Linked DNA regions of Homo sapiens: region 2 is linked to region 1. The links are contacts of gene promoters, found by promoter capture Hi-C in human tissues and cell types (Jung and others, 2019). All regions are on one chromosome and are shown on one strand. Each heading gives the region's core, a stretch centred on a gene start or on the middle of the fragment in contact. The rest is flanking DNA. Distances are from core to core; before and after follow the strand shown.

The links. Contacts are between HindIII fragments. The study calls those that stand out against the background at their distance.
Region 2: a contact is called between a fragment that was not itself captured here and the fragment with the promoter of CACNG6 in region 1, in 2 of the 25 tissues and cell types used here (neural progenitor cells and spleen).

Annotation. Positions count from the first base shown.
Region 1 is chr19:53,988,456-53,993,938 of GRCh38, reverse strand. It overlaps CACNG6 (calcium voltage-gated channel auxiliary subunit gamma 6), which reads right to left and starts at 2,302. Exons shown (of 4, transcript NM_145814.2): 1 at 731-2,302. The coding sequence starts at 1,061. CACNG8 (calcium voltage-gated channel auxiliary subunit gamma 8) reads right to left here. Exons shown (of 4, transcript NM_031895.6): 4 at 3,724-5,483. The HindIII fragment of the contact is 43,229 bases long and covers 1-5,483 here.
Region 2 is chr19:53,843,268-53,848,750 of GRCh38, reverse strand. No RefSeq gene overlaps it. Among named protein-coding and RNA genes, the nearest start is that of NLRP12, 22 kb to the right of the region's middle. The HindIII fragment of the contact is 5,768 bases long and covers 1-4,248 here.

The sequences.
Region 1 (5,483 bases), core at 1,053-3,552:
CACAGGCAAGATTTTTCTAGTGACACAGGCTCTCTCTAGAGCTGTAGGCTGGTCTGGGGGGACACAGCGATGCCTGGGAACATTGGCTGTGTGGGGGCAGGGACTTTGGGGGTCATAGAATCATCTGGGACCATAGCCTGGTGTGGAGGTGCAGGCTGATCTGAGGGCACAGGCTGGTGTAAGGATGCAGGCTGGTCTGGGGGTATAGACTGGTCTAGGGGTGCATGTTAGTCTGGGGGTGGAAACTGTAGCTGGGGACACAGGCTCATCTGGGGGTACAGGATAGTCGGGGTACAGGATGGTCTTGGGGCACAGGCTGTAGGCGGGGGCACAAGCTCTCTTTAGAGGTGCAGAATAGGGGTACAGACTCGTCTGAGGGGGTCTCAGGTCACAGCCTGGTCTGGGGGTACAGGATGGCCTGGGGGCACAGACTCCCTGTAGGCACATTCTGGTCTTGGGGTACAGTCTGTAGCAGGAAAGCAAGCTCTAAGGCACAGGTTCTCTGGCGGTAGGCCCGTGAGGGACCTGGGCCATATCTGGGGGATCCCTCTATCTCTCAGCAGTTTCTGAGAGCAGAGGACGAAGTGGGCACTGGCGCTTACTGCGAGGCAAGCTGTCTCCTCCGGGCTCAGGCTTTTGTCCCTGGGGCGGGTTTTCTCCTCGGACACGGGCCCCTCTCCCTCCCTGTCCGTGGGACGCAAGCCCTGCGCTCGGGGCGGCGGCTGCTCACCTCCGGGCAGCTCCGCGGGGCCGCAGGTGTCCCTGTCCACGGGCACGTCCGCCTGCCACAGCCGCTTGGTGCACGCCTTCCACAGCCCCAGGTGGGCCGCTTCGCACACGGCGCTGCCGTTGGCCTTGTAGGTGTTGAGCTCCACCCAGAACTCGGTGCCCACGGACAGCACCGCCAGCGTGGCGCCCACGGCGGCCAGCAGCAGCGCCAGCTTCACCTTCCCCTCGCGCTCGGGCGTCAGCCCCGACCTGCCCTGCCCGTGCGCCCGCCGCCGGCCCGCGGCCCCCCGCCGCCGGTTCTCCTCTTGCAGGAAGAAGTTGGACCACATCATCTTATGGCCGGTGGGGTCGGGAAGGGGGAGGAGGCAGAGCCGGCGAAGGGCCTCGAGGGGCGGGAGCGAGGAGCGGCCTGGGGTCTTGAAGGGGGTGAGGGACTCAGTTTCCCCTGGGTATGAAAGAGGGAGAGCCGAGTCCTGTCTGGAATCTCAAATGCGAAAGTCGAGATTGCTTCTGGGGTTCAGAAGAGAAAAATGATCCCCAGGGCTGGGGAAGCCTCTGGGGTTCAGAGGAGGGTCTAGGTTGCCCTCAAGAACTTGGCAAAGAAGACGGGGCCCAGAGGAAAAACAAGGCCCCCACCCTGAGGTTTAGAGATAGAATTCGGCTTCCCAGGAGGGAGTCCCCCCAAGAGCTCCAGAGGAATGAGAACTGGTGCCCGCTGAAGCTCCCTGCAGCTCCAAGGGGCTGCTTTGGGGTCCCCGCTGGGGGGTTAACAAAAGGGAAACTGGTTTTCCTGAGAGATCTGAGCACCCCACTAGGGCTAAGAGTTTGGGGTACCCAGGAAGGGACCTGAGGTCCTGTGTGTGTTTGGAGGAGATGTGGCCGGGGTTCCCTTGGGCTCAGAGTTTGAGAACAGAGGACTTGGGGACCCTCTGGGATTCGGAAAAGGAAGACCTGGGGTCCCGGGAAGCTCCCAAGGGGAGGTCGGAATTCAATCCGGGTCTCAAGAGAGGCAGTAGGACCCCGGCATCCACAGAAGGAGAAGAACAGAGCCCTGGCTGGGGCTCAGAAGAGGACTGGGCCTCGCTGGAATTCAGGAAAAGGGGATAGGGGTCTCCCCTGCCATTCAGAAAAGATCCGAGGTCTCTACTGAGCCTGGAAAAGGGGCCGGTGGCCGGAAGACAGAGTGGAGTCCAGAGGCGGGAGGCTACGGGGCCTCCCCGAGGGCTGGGGCAGATGGGACCGGGGGCCCTCCTGGGGCTCACACTATGGGGCTGTGGTCCGCACTGCGGCTCGGAAAACCAGGACTGAGTCCCCCCAGGGTTCAAAGGCCAACCGCGACCCGCAAGAGACGCTGCGCCCCTTCGGGATCAGTCCGTCTCCCTCCCCCGGGCTCCCAGGGCCTTCCCGGTCGGGTTCGCGCCAGGCTCAGCCCCAGGCCAGGGCCCCCCCTCGGGGCTCCCACCCCCGACTCCCGAGCAGGGGCCCCTCTCGCTCTCCTGCCTCGGCCCCGCGCCGACCCCAGCTCCGCGCTGCCTCCGAAGCGTCCGGCTGTGCCCGCCACCGCCACCGGCCTGGCCTCCGCCCGCGCCCGGCCTCGTCCCCACCCGCCCACCCCCCACCCTCCACCCTCCACCCTCGGGGCTATTTCGGGCTTGACCCGTAAATAACACCCGCACCTGTCGCCCGGCGCCTGTTGCCATAGGGATCCCGGGTGTTTTAAGGGGACGAGGAAGGGGGGAGGGAGGCCGCCCGGGGAGGAAGGGGCCGAGCCTGATGGGACTTTCATTTCACTAAGGGGCAAGAGCGGCGCCGAGAGTCCCAGCTCCGCAGTCTCCCGGGCAGCAGGAGACGGGCGGGGCAGCAAGTCTGACTGGGGTTACCAGGGAGGAGGGGCGGGAGGCAGGGCCCCGGGTCTCAGGGAGGAGGGCCTGAGGCCAGGAGTCTTGGGTCCCTAAGGGAGAAGAAGCCTCGGTACCCCACTTCTGAGTGGTAGAGGAAGAAGGCCTGGGTACCCAGAATCTTGGATCTGAGAGGAGAGGAACCTGGTCTCCTAGGTCCTGGGCTCCTGAGTCTGAGGGAGGAGGGGCTGGGGGCCTGAACTCCTGGGTCTGAGGGAGGAGGGGCTGGGGTCTGGACTCCTGGGTCTGAGGGAGGAGGGGCTGGGCCTGGGCTCCTGAGTCTGAGGGAGGAGGGACTGGGGCCTGGACTTCTGGGTCTGAGGGAGGAGGGACTGGGGCCTGAACTCCTGGGTCTGAAGGAGGAGGGGCTGGGGGCCTGGACTCCTGGGTCTGAGGGAGGAGGGGCTGGGGGCCTGGACTCCTGGGTCTGAGGGAGGAGGGGTTGGGGGCCTGGGCTCCTGGGTCTGAGGGAGGAGGGGCTGGGGGTCTGGACTCCTGGGTCTGAGGGAGGAGGGGCTGGGGCCTGGACTCCTGGGTCTGAGGGAGGAGGGGCTGGGGGCCTGGGCTCCTGAGTCTGAGGGAGGAGGGGCTGGGGGCCTGGACTTCTGGGTCTGAGGGAGGAGGGACTGGGGCCTGAACTCCTGGGTCTGAAGGAGGAGGGGCTGGGGGCCTGGACTCCTGGGTCTGAGGGAGGAGGGGCTGGGGGCCTGGGCTCCTGGGTCTGAGGGAGGAGGGGCTGGGGGCCTGGGCTCCTGGGTCTGAGGGAGGAGGGGCTGGGGGCCTGGGCTCCTGGGTCTGAGGGAGGAAGGCCTGGGCCTGGACTCCTGGGTCTGAGGGAGGAGGGGGCAGGGGGCCTGGACTCCTGGATCTGAGGGAGGAGGGGCTGGGCCTGGACTCCTGGGTCTGAGGGAGGAGGAGGGCCGGGGAGCCTGGACTCCTGGTCAAGGCGTTGGCAGACCCAGAGTCCTGGGCCTCAGGGAGGAGACTGGGGCCAGAACCCTGGGTCTTGAAGGATGGAAGGCCTGATTTCCATGTTGGAGAAAGCGCAGGCCTCAGGGCAGGGCCGGCTGTCAGGGGCACAGAATGAAAGCAGCACTCCTCTTCATCGAGTTTATTAGACGGGGCACCCCTGGGGGACCTTCCATGCAGTTTCAGCTCCCCCAGGAGCAGGGACAGAGGACAGCCGTGTGGCATGGCGGCAGGGCCTGATCTTCAACCCCTCACCCCCTACCCCTCAGCCCTTCTGTGGACGGCCCAGGTGGGACCCACCTTTCACCAACTCCTTCTTCTCCCACAGTTGGCTGCTCCAGGCAGGCCTGGCGCTGACCTGAGCGAGGCTCTGGTGCACGCTGGGCCTCTCTGCCCACCCCCTGCTCTGGACTTTTCCGATGGAGCACGTGTTTCCCCGCAGTGTGATTGTCTGTGTCTGGTTCTTCCAGCAGACTGGGGCCGGGGCCAGGCACAGGAGGAATTCACCTTGGCATCCTCAGCTCTACCCGGCACAGGGCCAGGTCACAGGCAGTCTTGGAAAATGTGCATGGGGTGACTTGAATGAATGGATGGATGAATGGGCAAAGGAATGACCAGATGGAGTGAGATGATGGCACACAGACATCCCCGCCCCAGCTAGGGGAGGGGCCTGCTGCGTTTCCTCAATGCCCGCGTGGCCCCGTCAGAACACAGCCCCCTCTGTATTCTAATTGTCTGGACTACCTGTCCCCCCCTCTGAAGGCAGAGATGGGACAGAAGTGGCCTGAGATTGCAGGGCCTTGTACTTGGAAGTCCTCAGGAAATATTTTTTTTTCTTTTTATTGATCATTCCTTGATGCTGTGCTTGCTTCTGAGTCTCCACGTTGCTTTCTATGCGAATCTCTGGGTCTTTCTCCGGCTTACGTCTCCCTATCTCTGTGGTTGTGTTTTTGTTATCTCTGGGACTTCTCTGATTTGTGTACCTGTCAGTCTCTCTCCTCCTCCTTTTCTGTCTTCTCTGTATCACCTTCTTGTCTTTGACTTTATTTCTTTGACTTTCTTTCTTTCTGTTTTCTGAGACAGGGTCTTGCTCTGTGGCCCAGCCTGAAGTGCAATGGTGCAATCATAGCTCACTGCAACCTTAAACTCCTGGACTCAAGCAATCCTCCCGCCTCAGCCTCCCGAGTATCTAGGACTACAGGCGTGAGCCACCACGCCACAGCTCATTTTTCATTTTTGTAGAGACGGGGTCTTACTATATTGCCCAGGCTGGTCTCAAACGCCAAGCCTCAAGCAATCCTCCTGTCTTGGCCTCCCAGAGTGCTGGGATTACAGGCATGAGCCCCCAAGCCTGGCCAGAAAGTATTTCCAAGAACTGAGTGAATGTTTATTTCTGAAAATGAATGATGAAAACGTGTTCTTCCCCTTCACCTCAATAGGTCTTGACAGGGTCTACAGGGGGAATCCCAGAGTGTGCCCGGCGCTGACAGCAGCAAGAGACAGGAGCTGGGCAGAGCATCCCTGGCTAGGGGATCTGCCAGAGCCTAGCTGACAGCATCCTCTCTTCCCTGCCCCCTGAATTCATCTTCCCCTCCTGGCCCTGGGCTTCCCCATCTCTCTTGCTCCTGCCTGCTGTGACAGCTAATTGCAGGATGCAATTTTCTGCCTCCCATCTCCCTATCTGCATGTCTCCCTACTTCCTTTCAGGGTCATTTTTTTTTTTTTTTACCTTTTTTCTTTTTTGAGACAGAGTCTTGCTCTGTCACCCAGGCTAGAGTGCAGTGGTGTGATCTTGGCTCACTGCAACCTCTGCCTCCTGGGCCCAAGAGATTCTCCTGCTTCAGCCTCTCAAGTAGCTGGGATTACAGGTGTGCACCACCGCACCTG
Region 2 (5,483 bases), core at 115-2,614, 140 kb after region 1:
GAAGACGAGGGTCCTTGGGAAAGATGCTGGTGGTCTTGCATGGGCTGCAGCAGGAGAAATGAAGCTACACTAGCTAATGGGAAATTCCCTCACTCGGCAAGTATCCTAGAGTGCATTGTGCCCTGTTACAGACGGGCACTGCAGATACAGCCATGAAGAAAATAAAGTCCTCTAGGCCGGGCGTGGTGGCTCATACCTGTAATCCCAGCATTTTGGGAGGCCGAGGTGGGAGGATCACTTGAGCCCAGGTGTTCAAGACCAGCCCGGGCAACATGGCAAAACCCCCGTCTCTACTAACAATACAAAAACTGAGCTGAGTGTGGTGGTGCACGCCTGTAGTCCCAGCTACTCGGGAGGCTGAAGCGGGAGAATCGCTTGAACCCGGGAGGCAGAGGGTTGCAGTGAGCCGAGATCACAGCACTGCACGCTCCAGCCTGGGTGACAGAGTGAGACTGTCTCCGGAAAAAAAAAAAAAAAGAACAAAGTCCCCTTAGCCAGACATGGTGACTCATGCCTGTAATCCCAGCACTTTGGGAGGCCGAGGCAGTGGTTCACCTGAAGCCAGGAGTTCGAAACCAGCCTGGCCAACATGACAAGACCCTGTCTCTACAAAAAAAAGATACAAACATTAGCCGGGCATGATGGCATGTGCCTGTGGTCCCAGCTACTCGGGAGGTTGAGATGGGAGAATTGCTTGAACCCAGGGAAGTTAAGGCTGCAGTGAGCAGTGATCACATCACTGCCCTCCAGCCTGGGTGATAGAGACAGACCCTGTCTTAAAACAAAAACAAAAAAAGTCCCTGTCCTCATGGCATTCCTGCACTTTAAGGGAAGACCAATAATTACCCACAGGAACACACAGACATGTCACACTATGTCAGACAGTGACGTGTGTGATAAAGAAAAAAAGCTGGGCATGAGAGCAGGAGTAACCAATGCAATTCTAGGAGAGGTGACGAGAGAAAGCCTCTCCAGAGACAGTGCTTGATGTGGGGCCCGCATGCCTCCAAGGAGAGCATCTCTGGTGGAGGGAATAGCAGATCCGGATGCCTGGAGGTGGGAGTGTGTTTTGCCTGTTCTAAAAAGAGTAAAATGAACGCTGTGCTGGAGGAGAGTGAACGAGGGGAAGAGGAGTAAAACATGAGATCTGGCAGCCGGCAACGTTTGGAGAGAGGCATTTGGGAAACAGATCCCCAAGGACTGGGTTATGGAGCCCAGCTGGGCTCTCCATAAATACCGGGGAGACATAGGACACATGAGTTGACAGCTGTCACTCAGGTTGTCAACTGTGAGGTCCTCTACATCTGGCAAGCTCTGAACTCATAGGGTGTTTTTGAGAAATATAAGCGTGTATACAGTTGATCCTTGAACAACACGGGTCCGAACTGCGTGGGTCCACTTATCCAGGGATTTTCTTCCTCCTCTGCCACCCGGAGACAGCCTTCCTCTTCCTCTTCCTCCTCAGCCTACTCAACCTGAAGATGATGAAGATGAACACCTTTATGATGATCCACTTATACTTAATGAACAGTGAATATACTACTTTCTCCTTCTTATGATTTTCTTTCTTTTTTTTTTTTTTTTTTTTGAGATGGAGTGTCACTCTGTGGCCCAGGCTGGAGTGCAGTGGCGCAATCTCAGCTCACTGCAAACTCCACCTCCCAGGTTCAAGCGATTCTCCTGCCTCAGCCTCCTGAGTAGCTGGGATTACAGGCGCGTGCCACCAGGCCCAGCTAATTTTTGTATTTTTATTAGAAATGGGGTTTTACCATGTTGATAAGGGCTGGTCTCGAACTCCTGACCTCGTGATCCACCCACCTCGGCCTCCCAAAGTTCTGAGATTACAGGCGTGAGCCACTGTGCCCGGCCGCACACTGATTTTCTTGATAACATTTTCTTTTCTCTAGCTTCCTTTATTGTAAGAATATAGTATATTATACATAGAATATCAACTTTTTTTTTTTTTTAGGTAGGGTCTGGCTCTGTTGCCCAAGCTGAAGTGCAGTGGCACGATCTCGGCTCACTGCAACCTCCACCTCCTGCGATTTGGGGCCTCAGCCTCCCAAGTAGCTGGGATTACAGGTGAATGCCACCATGTCTGGCTAAATTTTTAGCAGAGGGTCTTACCATGTTTGCCAGGCTGGTCTTGAACGCCTGGCCTCAAGTGATCTGACTGCCTTGGCCTCCCAAAGTGCTGGGGTTATAGGTGTGAGCCACCACACCCGGCCTATTTTTTCTTTTTTCTATTTATTTATTTATTATTATTATTTTTTGAGACGGAGTCTCGCTCTGTCACCCAGGCTGGAGTGCAGTGGTGCAATCTCGGTTCACTGCAAGCTCCGCCTCCCGGGTTCACGCCATTCTCCTGCCTCAGCCTCCCGGTAGCTGGGACTACACGTGCCCGCCACCGCGCCCGGCTAATTTTTTTGTATTTTTAGTAGAGACGGGGTTTCACTGTGTTAGCCAGGATGGTCTCGATCTCCTGACCTCGTGATCTGCCCGCCTCGGCCTCCCAAAGTGATTACAGGATTACAGGCGTGAGCCACCGCGCCCGGCCTCTTTCTTTTTTTAATCTGATTTTCTCCTAGAGCCTTCGGATGAGACCTACCATTCTTTTATTTTATTTTATTTTATTTATTGTACTTGAATGTCAGTAGGGAAAGTATCTGAGTCACAGAGCACCAAAGTATGTTAGCAGCGGAGAATGCGTATGAGTCTGCAGCAACTTCCATTTTTGCCTCTTCAGAAGAAAGAATTCCACTGGGGGAATAAGGCAGGAGAGACCAAGGCAAGCTTTAGAGCATTAGTGAAAGTTTATTAAAAACTTCAGAACAGGAACTAGGCGGGCGCAGTGGCTCACGCCTGCAATCCCAGCACTTTGGGAGGCCGAGGCGGGCGGATCACAAGGTCAGGATTTCCAGACCCAGCCTGACCGATATGGTGAAACCCCATCTCTACTAAAAATACAAAAATTAGTTGGCCGTGCCGTGATGGTGGGTGCCTGTGGTCCCAGCTACTCGGGAGGCTGAGGCAGGAGAATCGCCAAACCTGGCAGGTGGAGGTTGCAGTGAGCCAAGATCGCGCCATTGCACTCCAGCCTGGGCAAAAGAGCAGGACTCCTTCTCCACAAAAAGAAGAAAGAGAGAAAGAAGGGAGGGAGGGAGGGAAGGAAGGTAGGAAGGAAGGAAGGAAGGAAAGGAGGGAGGGGCTGGGCACCGTGGCTCATGCCTATAATCCCAGCACTTTGGGAGGCCGAGGCGGGGCGGATCACCTGAGGTCAGGAGTTCGAGACCAGCCTGGCCAACATGGCGAAACCCCATCTCTACTAAAAATACAAAAATTAGCTGGGCGTGGTGGTGGGCGCCTGTAATCCCAGCTACTCAGGAGTCTGAGGCAGAAGAATCTCTTGAACCCGGGAGGTGGAGGTTGCAGTGAGCCGAGATCGCACCATTGCACTCCAGCCCAGGCGTCAGGGCAAGACTCCATCTCAAATAAAGAAGAAGAAAATGAAACTTTATATTGATAACCTGGATTTGCCTCATTCTTCAGTTTCTTAACTCCATGTGTATTTGGGGGCTGCTTTGCACATAGGGCCCTTTCACAGGAGGGGAAGGCTTGTTACACAGCAAAAGGTATTGGGCGCACTCCTGCGCAGGTTTCCTCTCCGCTCTGCTTCCCCTTTGTGGACCGAAACTGATGACAATACACACCTCGTGGGTTGTTGAGTGATTACGTAACTTAATGCATGTAAAGGGCTCAGATCATTGCCTGACACACAGTACGTGGTGCTCAGTAAATGTTGGTTGTTGTGGTTATATGCAATTATTCCAAAATCTGAAAAATCAGAAATCCGAAACGCTTCTGGCCCCAAGCATTTTGGATAAAGGATACTCAACTCTTATTTATATACTAAAATACTATTTACTTCATCCTTTCCTTAAAATACATATATTTCAGCCTGGGCAACATAGTAAGACCCCGTCTCTACAAAAAGATACAAAGATTAGTTGGGCATAGTGGTGTGCACCTGTAATTCCAGCCAGCTGGGGGGTTGAAGTGGGAGGATTGCTTGAACCTGGAAGGTTGAGGCTGCAGTGAACTGTGATCTTGCCACTGCCCTCCAGCCTGGACAACAGAGCAAGACCCTGTCTCAAAAACAAATAAATAAAAAACAAAAACCATATGTTTGCTTAAATTAAAAAAAAACACAAAAAACAAAACTTCGGCTGGGCACGGTGGCTCACACCTGTAATCCCAGCACTTTGGGAGGCCAAGGTGGGCAGATCACGAGGTCAGGAGATCGAGACCATCCTGAGTAACATGGTGAAACCCCGTCTCTTTTAACACACACACACACACACACACACACACACACACACACACACACACAAAAGCCAGGCGTGGTGGCGGGCACCTGTAGTCCCAGCTACTCGGGAGGCTGAGGCAAGAGAATGGTGTGAACCCAGGAGGCGGAGCTTGCAGTGACCCGAGATCATGCCACTGCACTCCAGCCTGGGTGACACAGCAAGACTCGGTCTCAAAAAAAACAAAACAAAACAAAACAAAAACCTTCAAGCAGCTATGACATAAGTGAGCACAGGTTTACTCATTAGTCTTTGTGTACGTATCAAAGAAAAACGTGAGCAAATATTTACATACCAAGTGTCCTGAAATTAGGATCAACTATATATTTATTCCATAACTTGTCATTGTAGAAGACATTATTTTTGTAGCATTTAGAGACTCATTTGAATAATTCAAATGATTATGAACTTGCAACCTGGAAACCATGACAGTTATGGACAGCTATGTTTTCTAGAATCTTTTTTTTTGTGTAAAATTCCCGATTAAACGGTGTAAATTATGTTTGCAAAAAGAAGGTGAATTTGCTGAACAAACGTATGATAATTAGCCATGGCTGTGACTTTGCCGATAGTTTTTGTTTTGTTTTGTTTTGTTTTGAGATGGAATCTCACTCTGTCACCCAGGCTGGAGTGCAGTGGCATGATCTGCAAGCTCACTGCAAGCTCTGCCTCCTAGGCTAATTTTTTGTATTTTTAGTGGAGACCGGGTTTCACTGTGTTAGCCAGGATGGTCTCGATCTCCTGACCTCGTGATCCGCCCATCTCAGCCTCCCAAAGTGCTGGGATTACAGGTATGAGCCACCACACCCGGCCTTTGCCGATAGAGTTTTAAGTATCTCAACCTGCACGGAAGACTGCATAGATTATTTTAGAATCTGGAACAAATAAAAAGTCATTCCTCTTTGCAAAGTTATTCTGTGCATAAAATAAATAAATGACTCTAACAGATTAAGTCTAGAACAGTGGTTCTCAACGGAGGGCAATTTTGCCTCTTGTTTTAAGATGTAGGGTCTTTTGGGGGGTGGGGTTGTATGTTTGTTTGTTTTTTGAGACAGGGTCTAGCTCTGTCACCCAGGCTGGAGTACAGTGGCGCAATCTTTGCTCACTGCAACCTCTACC